Linked DNA regions of Homo sapiens: all the other regions are linked to region 2. The links are contacts of gene promoters, found by promoter capture Hi-C in blood cells and fetal thymus (Javierre and others, 2016). All regions are on one chromosome and are shown on one strand. The core of a region is centred on a gene start or on the middle of the fragment in contact, and the rest is flanking DNA. Distances in the headings are between cores, read along the strand shown.

Region 1 (2,837 bases), core at 26-2,525, 5.1 Mb after region 2:
CTAAATTACAATAAGCCCACAATTAATTATAGCTAGTCATTTGCTCTATTAATTTATTTGCAGCATACTTTATAATAATGTGTATAAGAGTTAAGCTAGATGAAGGATGGGTCGGCTGCTTTGCCCCAGCTCCCAACACTGGCCTGGCATATGCATGGTGTCCATAAAAATTTATAGAATGTACAACCTCTGTTATTTCTCAACATTGCTTTCAGTTGAGTCAGTATGATTATTTTCAAGTAGAAAACAGACTTAGAGGTAATTTACCCAGATCTTTATAAAGAGTCAGCTATAGCCTAAGGATTGAGAGGCAAAGCTCATTCCTAGTCGGCTGACCCTCACTGCCCCCACGTTTTACAAAGTATAATAAAATGACTACATAATGCTCTGCAAATATTACCTGGTCATTTAAATAATCCACACCATATAAACCTCTGATATCAGGAAACTTGTTATAGTTATCTTTTTACTTGCCTAGCACCTAGTACAATGCTTTCAAATATTGTGGTAGGCACTGGTTAACCATACCCCTTAAAATGAATGTTTACCGTACATGAAATTTTAGATCTGGATAGGAACCTTGGTGATTATCAAATCCAACATCTTCATTTTAAAAATAAGAGACTTGACATCCAAAGGAGTTAAATGTTTAATCTGAGTCACTTGGCTAGTTGATAACAAAACAGGGCTTAAATTCAGGTTTCTCAACTCTATCCCCTGTACCACACTGTCTAATATCAAAGCTTCAAATTCCAAAGATAGGTAAACTACTCTCCCTTCCCATCTGAAAGTTACTATGCCAATCTAATACAAGTCTGCTTCATGGTTGAAATGTTGCCTTCTTTTTTATGTATTTCATTCAGGATTTTTTTCAATATGTAAATCAATACTTCACTTTTTTTTTTCTCATTTGTAGTATTCCCAAAGAACATGATCCCCATGGAGAGGTTTACTGAGATAATAATGTTATACTTCTGTACATTTATATTTGAATCCCTGGAGAAAAAAATTAATAATTGAATATCTTGGGACTGTGATGGGTAGAGATATTTGGAGATGCAGTCTTTATGCCATTTCATTTCACCCAGTTACTGCTTTAAGGTAATATTGAAGCAAGTTACTCCATGTTAATGATACCTAATTTAATTGGAATTTTTCTATTTTATTAGTCATACAATATTAATTTTAATCAGATATATTTTGAAATGCCCTAAGCCTAGATTAGAATGTGATATGGAGAAGTCTAGTAAGAGAAAAAAAACAGCAGAGCTCTTCAATCAAATGTTACGCTTTCCCCTAAATTCTGCTAAGCCCACTGTAGCATGCTTTTCCTGCATGTGTTGGGATTGGGAGTAGGAGGAAGAATAGCATAGTTCTTGAGACTGAAAATAAGTTGGGCCTGCACAGACAGATAAATGTGTCCCTGGTAAGATTTAAAGAGAATAAGAAAGAACACAGGACAGAGAGGAATTAATTTGGCCTTAGATTACAGTGAGAGAGTTGGCAGAACTCCTTTAGTAATAAAATGTCAGGCTAGGTGGGTTTCTAGTATTTGGAAATGAAAATAAACCCCCTCCGAAAGGAGAATTTATCCATAGAGGGCAGGATAGTTTTCTTTCTCCAAATATGACCAACTGAATTTGCTGTCCCAAGTGATAACAACTTCTTTCTTAATGCTTCCTATGTGACGGGCACTACTCTAATAGTACTGTACTGGTAAACTAATCTACTTAACTTCACAACAACACAGTGGAGTACTAATAACTAATAGTATCCCCAATCTACAGGTAAGTTAACTGAAGCTTCAAGAGCTTCGGTAACTTGCCACCCAGCTAATAAGTAAACGTGCCCCTAAGTAGCCAGACTCCATGTTTTTAATATTCCTGTGTTGGGCTTTAGTTTCTTTCTTTCTTTCTTCCTTTCCTTCTTTTCTTTCTTTCTTTCTTTCCTTCCCTCCTTCCTTCCTTCCTTCCTTCCTTCTCCTTTCTTCCTTCCTTCCTTCTCCTTCCTTCCTTCCTTCCTTCCCTCCCTCATTCCCTCCTTCTCTCCTTCCCTTCTTCCTTCCTTTTCTCTCTCTCTCTCTGTCTCTTTTGAGACGGAGTCTCACTCTGTCGCCCAGGCTGGAGTGCAGTGGTGGGATCTCCATTCACGGCAACCTCTGCCTCCTGGGTTCAAGTGATTCTCCTGCCTCAGCCTCTCAAGTAGCTGGGATTACAGGCACACGCCACCACACCCGACTAATTGTTGTGTTTTTAGTAGAGACGGGGTTTTGCCATGTTGGCCAGGATGGTCTCAAACTCCTGACCTCAGGTGATCTGCCCGCCTCAGTTCCCAAAGTGCTGAGATTACAGGCATGAGCCACCGCACCTGGCCAGTTCCTTCTCTTTTTAATCAGGTTAATATATGCCCCTATATACCTCAGAGATTATTTATAAGGATACAATAATATGGTTGTTAACATGCTCTCAAAAGATAGTGAAATCAGGCTGGGCATGGTGGCTCATGCCTGAAACCCCAGCACTTTCGGAGGCTGAGGTGGGTGGATCACTTGAGCCCAAGAGTTTGATACCAGTCTGGGCCAACACAGGGAGACCCTATCTCTACAAAAAAATGCAAAATTATCTGGGTGTGGTGGCAGCTGCCTGTAATCCTAGCTACTCAGGTGGCTGAGGTGGGAGGATCCCTTGAGCCCTATGGGTGGAGGCTGCAGTGAGCTGAGATCACGCCACTGCACTCCAGCCTTGGTGACAGAATGAGACCCTGCCTCAAATAAATAAATAAATAAATAAAGTGAAACCAGGCCTCTTTTTAGGGATGAACATCTAGCCACTCAGGCT
Region 2 (2,700 bases), core at 174-2,673:
AAAGAACAAGGAATATAATGATGCTAATAAATTTCTACAACACAAGATATAAATGAGACAGAAGTTTAAACAGCTTTAAAAGTTTAAGCTTTTGGCTGGGCACATTGGCTCATGCTTGTAATCCCAGCACTTTGGGAGGCCGAGACAGGCAGATGGTTTGACCTCAGGAGTTTGAGACCAGCCTGGGCAACATGGCCAGACCCCATCTCTTAAAAAAAAAAAAAAAAAATTAAGCTTTTGCTTCAATTTTTTCCATCTGATTTATCAGAAGTACCTGAGGGAATAGAGAGAGGAGATGTAGGGGGTGGCCAAGGAATTGAGAGCTATAAGAAAATAAGGTTTGAATTAGCAGATATGGAGAATGGAAAAGGCGGCTACGAAAATACACTAGACTCAACTAAGAATTTTTTTTTTTTTTTTTTGAGACAGTCTAACTCTGTCACTCAGGCTGTGGTGTAGTGGTGCGATCTCAGCTCACTGCAAACTCCGCCTCCTGGGCTCAAGCGATCGTCCGGCCTCAGCCTCCCGAGTAGCTGGGATTACAGGCGCACGCCATCACACTAGGCTAATTTTTGTATTTTTAGTAGATACAGGATTTCCCCATGTTTGTCAGGTTGGTCTCAAGCGATCTGCACATCTCGGCCTCCCAAAGTGCTGACGGGAGCCACCGCGCTCGGCCACTACTAAGAATTCCATATGCGCAAACAAACAGGTATTATACATTGGCCCAGTGCAGCAGAATACATATCATCTGAGAACTGTGACATTGTGAGAAGAGGAAGTTAAAAGTCATCCTTTAAGACAATTTACTTTGACTTACAAACAGTATGAAGAAATGTCAGACTAAACCGAGTCCCCCCCGCCACCCCCACCCCCCGATATTCTCTGTCCCGGAATATTTCCAGGACCTTCCACACTGCCTGACACAGGCTGACACTCAACAATTGAGCTATTCGTTAAGTCGACTGTGGCTTTAAGGAAAATTTTTAAAGGGTGCCCTTTGCTTCAAATTCAAAACGTAATTTATCTTACGATTCTGCACGCTACTTCACCACAGGAAACGAGGATCAGATCTAACGGAACGAGAAAGTGCAGAGAGCAGCAGTGAACGTAACCTGGAACATTAACACTATGTTCCCTGCACCCTCCGCCTCTCCCTACCCCAGTTTCGTTCCCGGCCTGGTAAGTGTGGGAACAAGGCTGGGGACTGTGCAGCCGGCGCATGGGAAGGCCCCAAATCCTCAATCCAATCAGTTCCCAACGCTTTCCTGCTTAAATGGACCGCCACGGCGTGTGTTTTGAGCGTTCACCTACCCTCATCCGCGTCGTACATATTGCCAAACGGTTCTCGAGCTCCTAACTCTTGAAATCAAAAGACAAAAACCGCCCAGAAGCCAGCAGCGCCAGGAGCTAAAGACGAAGTAACTTCCGTCTCCGACGTTCCCAGAATACCACGCGTCTCACACCAAAGGCCGCCCACAGGGACGCCAAAGTTAGGATCTGCGCCTGCGCAAATTGTAGGTCAAGCTTGGGCCGGGGTTAGGGTTGCACACGCGTAAATTGTGGGCCGCCGCTGCCGGGCTGATTGAGAGGACAGCTCCCGCAATCTGCGGTCGTATCCGTTCCGTCAATGTTTTATTTCTGCTTGTTTTTCAATGTTGTTGCACAAATAACGACACCTGAAAACAAAACCAGGTATACTTATTATTAAAAAGTGTTCGTCCTGTGAATCCGCAACATTGGGATGCTCAATTTATTTGCCTTTATAAGGACCAAAACACGAAGCTATTTTTTATTTTTATTTATTTATTATTTTTTGAAATGGAGTCTCGCTCTGTCGCCCAGGCTGGAGTGCAGTGGAGCGATCTCGGCTCACTGCAACCTCCGTCTCCCGGGTTCAAGCGATTCTCCTGCCTCGGCCTCCCAAATAGCTGGGATTACAGGCAAGGGTCACCACGCCCGGGTAATTTTTGTATTTTTAGTAGAGACGGGGTTTCACCACGTTGGCCAGGCTGGTCTCGAACTGCTGACCTCAGGTGATCCACCCGCCTCGGCCTCCCAAAGTGCTGGGATTACAGGCGTGAGCCACGCGCCCGGCCGGAAGCTCCTTTCTGTTTTTGTTTTGTTTTGTTTTTTTGAGACAGGCTCGCTCTGTCGCCCAGGCTGGAGTGCAGTGGCGCGATCTCGGCTCACTGCAACCTCCGCCTCCCGCGTTCAAGCCATTCTCCTGCCTCAGCCTCCCGAGTAGCTGGGACTACAGGCGCCCGCCACCACGCCTGGCTAATTTTTTGTATTTTTAGCAGAGATGGGGGTTTCACCGTGTAAGCCAGGATGGTCTCGATCTCCTGACCTCATGATCCGCCCGCCTCGGCCTCCCAAATTGCTGGGATTACAGGCGTGAGCCACCGCGCCCGACCCCGGAAGCTCCTTTTTAAGTGTGATTTATTAAGGGCGGCTTGTGCTAGCAGTGAGGCGTTAAGCCTGAAAGTGAAAAAACCCAAAACACTCACTGCTCTTTTCTGCCCACCTAGCTCAATCCTCCAGTGCCTTTGCCATAGCTTTAAGTAGGTTCTCAGTCTCAGAGCTTAAATCGCGAGAACTGACGGGATTAGACGCAAAACCAACCAGGACAGCTCCCAAGTACCCACGCGCTTTCGTCTCGGGTCAAATGCGCGCCTCGGACCCTAGTGCGCGTGCGCG
Region 3 (2,766 bases), core at 37-2,536, 5.1 Mb after region 2:
CTTCCTACTGCTCCATTAACACTCCAAGAACACTCCCACCTCAGCGCCTTTGCACGTGCTGTTCTCCTTACCTTGAGCGCTCTTCCCCCTAATAATAACATGGTTGCTCTCATACTTCATCAGGTTTCCATTTTAATATCACCTTTGATGGATATGTTAATTAGTCTGATTTGATCACTCCACAATTATGCATGTATCAAAACATCACATTGTACTCCGTAAATATATACAATTATTTGTCAATTAAGGATAAAATTCTTAAAAATCACCTCCTTACATAACCTTGCCAGACCAACAGAGCCCCATCTTCACTCTATCATCTTACCATGCTTTGCTTTTCTTCACAGCATTAATACCATCTGACATTATATTATATATTTGTCATCATCCTCTCCCATTAGAATGTAAGCTCCACAAGGGCCAAGACTTAAATCTTGCCCATTGCTGTATCCCGTAATATTAATACCTAGAAGAGTACCTGGCACATATTAGGTGCTCAATAAATATTCAACAAATGAATAAACGCAGATACAAAGGCACCAAAGGCTTAAATTCAATACATTCAGGGCACTTCAAGTGATCTTCAAATGTGAGAAGTGTCATGGTAAGAGGAGACTGAACAGGAAGGCAAAGATCAGAAAATGAAGAACTTGTGAATCCTGCTTGAGCGTTTAGATTTAATCTCCTAAGGATCTGTACCTCAAACACAGGCACCAGAGACCATGCAAACGTAATGACAGGAATGGCACATTCCAGCAGCATCAATTCTAATCAGCAATAATATGACAGTCTTACATGAAAACAAACATAATCCCCACATCAAGCTGTGCTCCCAGGACCCTGAAACAACTTATTCCACCAAACTCTGTACAGGAAAACATTGGTGGGAAGTCTGAGAAGCACTCCTTTGAGAGTCTTGGTGCCATGGAGGTGTTCTGATCAGGAGAGTTATTTAAAAAGATCACTCTAGGACAAGTGTGCAGCAAAGATGATGGGTGATCTGAATTTAGAGTGGCCATTTATGGAGATGACTAGAAGTGACTGAGGTGGGAAAGCATTAGGGCCGTAAGTTAGACACTGGCTGTAAAAATGGAGAGGAGAGATTCTGAGTACACTGGAGTTGCAGAAAATAGATATTTAGCTTACACAAATTCAACTCTTCTCATTTGGTCAAAAAAAATAAAAAAGGAAGAAGCGAGATGAAAAGAAATTTCAGTTGTCTCACTAACTGCCCACCCTCCCTTCTACTTAATGAGCACGAGACATGACACATGAATAGTCACTCTGTTGGTCTCAGTTTCCACATGCCAATCAGATTTTGTGCATCTCACAATACGGTATGAGTCGAGTATTTAAAGTGATGTATTTTCATAAAACATGGTCCCTAAACTGAAGTTGAAGACGAGGCCAGATGCTTCAACTGGTGCTCAAATAAACAGCCAGAGATCTATTCCAATGCTGGAGGAAGGAATAGGCTGTGCTGGATTCTTCTGAGACAGCTTCCAAAGAGGAATCTTCTGCAAGTGTTTCCAGTGGTATTTTTAACACCAATGATCTTCACCTTACACAGGGACTTTAGAACCAACCTCTATATAAAATGTGATTGCAGTGTAAGGAAAAACTAACAGGACTGCATGTGAGAGATGAGCAAGTGAGGCACTCAATGGTTCATGTTCTTTTGTCCAATTCTCATTTTATTAGCTTGAGCGGAGTCAGAGAGCTAGCTATGGCCAAGCTGGGCAAAACTCTTATCTTCTAACTCCCAATCCAAGGCTACTTCTTCCATTCTAAATTATTTCCAATAAAAGCAAAAATATCAATCTAACTTTACACTCTGTAATAGGAAAAAAGCAGCAACGTTTCCTAACCAAAGCTGTCAACAAGCAACCACACACTTAAAGTAATTTAATATTAAAGAAAAAAATTTTAAAACTGGCTGAATCTAAAACAATTCACCATTTTTCCCCCAGGGAAATAATGGTACAGAAAAGATTTAACACCAGTGTTAACTTTCTATTTTTAAGCACAATTCGCTCTTCTGGTCACTAAAGCATCATCAAAGTGTTTTATTATTAAACTACAGCTGAACAATTCTCTCAGATATAAAAGTTTTAAACAGTATTATGCTCTTAACAAATGCTTTTCAAGTGACGATGAAAATGATGAAATAAACCTGTAAAGGCGGCAGAAGGAAAGGGCAAAATAGTGACCATGTTATTGCCAAAAAAGCAAAACAAAATTGGACAAAATTAAAGGTTACCATCTAACCTTGGCACTCATCTAAATGTCTCTGGAACAGAACAAGAACACGACTGAGGTATAGGGATCTGCCTCTCTAACTGGGATTCATCAGGGAATGCTTAAGGGTGTTTCAAGCCATGGGTCACATGGCTCAGCCTCCTGAAAAGTCAATTGTACCACGTGATATGGGAAAAGAAAACAAAAATTGTTAAAGCCAAGGCTGCACTGTGGTTGGGAGCCACTCTTTAGATTTGCCTTGTTTCCTTCCTTCTAGAAACACATGCCCTCTTTTCCATGGGTTTCAGATAGACTAGGGATGAGAATGTCAACGATGTGGAGCAGAGACCCATTCCAACCCACAAAGGATGCATTACAACCTTTTACTTGAATCACTGAGATGTTGTATTTGCTATTGCAGCATAAAAGAAAAAAAATTCTAGTCCTCACAAGGCTCTACGTGATCTGACCTAAGTCATCCCATTCCATTATCCTTGCCTACTCCATTCTAGCCACACAATTCGTGAA

What was found. The method cuts DNA at HindIII sites, captures the fragments that hold promoters and counts their contacts. A CHiCAGO score of 5 or more calls a contact.
Region 1: a contact is called between a fragment that was not itself captured here and the fragment with the promoter of POLR2B in region 2, in 5 of 17 cell types (non-activated CD4 T cells, naive CD8 T cells, total CD4 T cells and 2 more). The highest score is 10.5, in non-activated CD4 T cells.
Region 3: a fragment that was not itself captured here is called in contact with the fragment with the promoter of POLR2B in region 2 in 1 of 17 cell types (erythroblasts); the score reaches 5.1 in erythroblasts.

What each region holds. Positions count from the first base shown.
Region 1 is chr4:51,838,330-51,841,166 of GRCh38, reverse strand. It overlaps a transcript of DCUN1D4 not described here. Among named protein-coding and RNA genes, the nearest start is that of DCUN1D4, 3.4 kb to the left of the region's middle. The HindIII fragment of the contact is 1,059 bases long and covers 746-1,804 here.
Region 2 is chr4:56,977,619-56,980,318 of GRCh38, reverse strand. POLR2B (RNA polymerase II subunit B) reads right to left here and starts at 1,423. Exons shown (of 25, transcript NM_000938.3): 1 at 1,315-1,423. The coding sequence starts at 1,333. RefSeq lists an enhancer at 1,050-1,149. The HindIII fragment of the contact is 1,293 bases long and covers 237-1,529 here.
Region 3 is chr4:51,855,617-51,858,382 of GRCh38, reverse strand. The region is part of intron 1 of DCUN1D4 (defective in cullin neddylation 1 domain containing 4); the gene reads right to left. Among named protein-coding and RNA genes, the nearest start is that of DCUN1D4, 14 kb to the right of the region's middle. The HindIII fragment of the contact is 3,411 bases long and covers 1-2,766 here.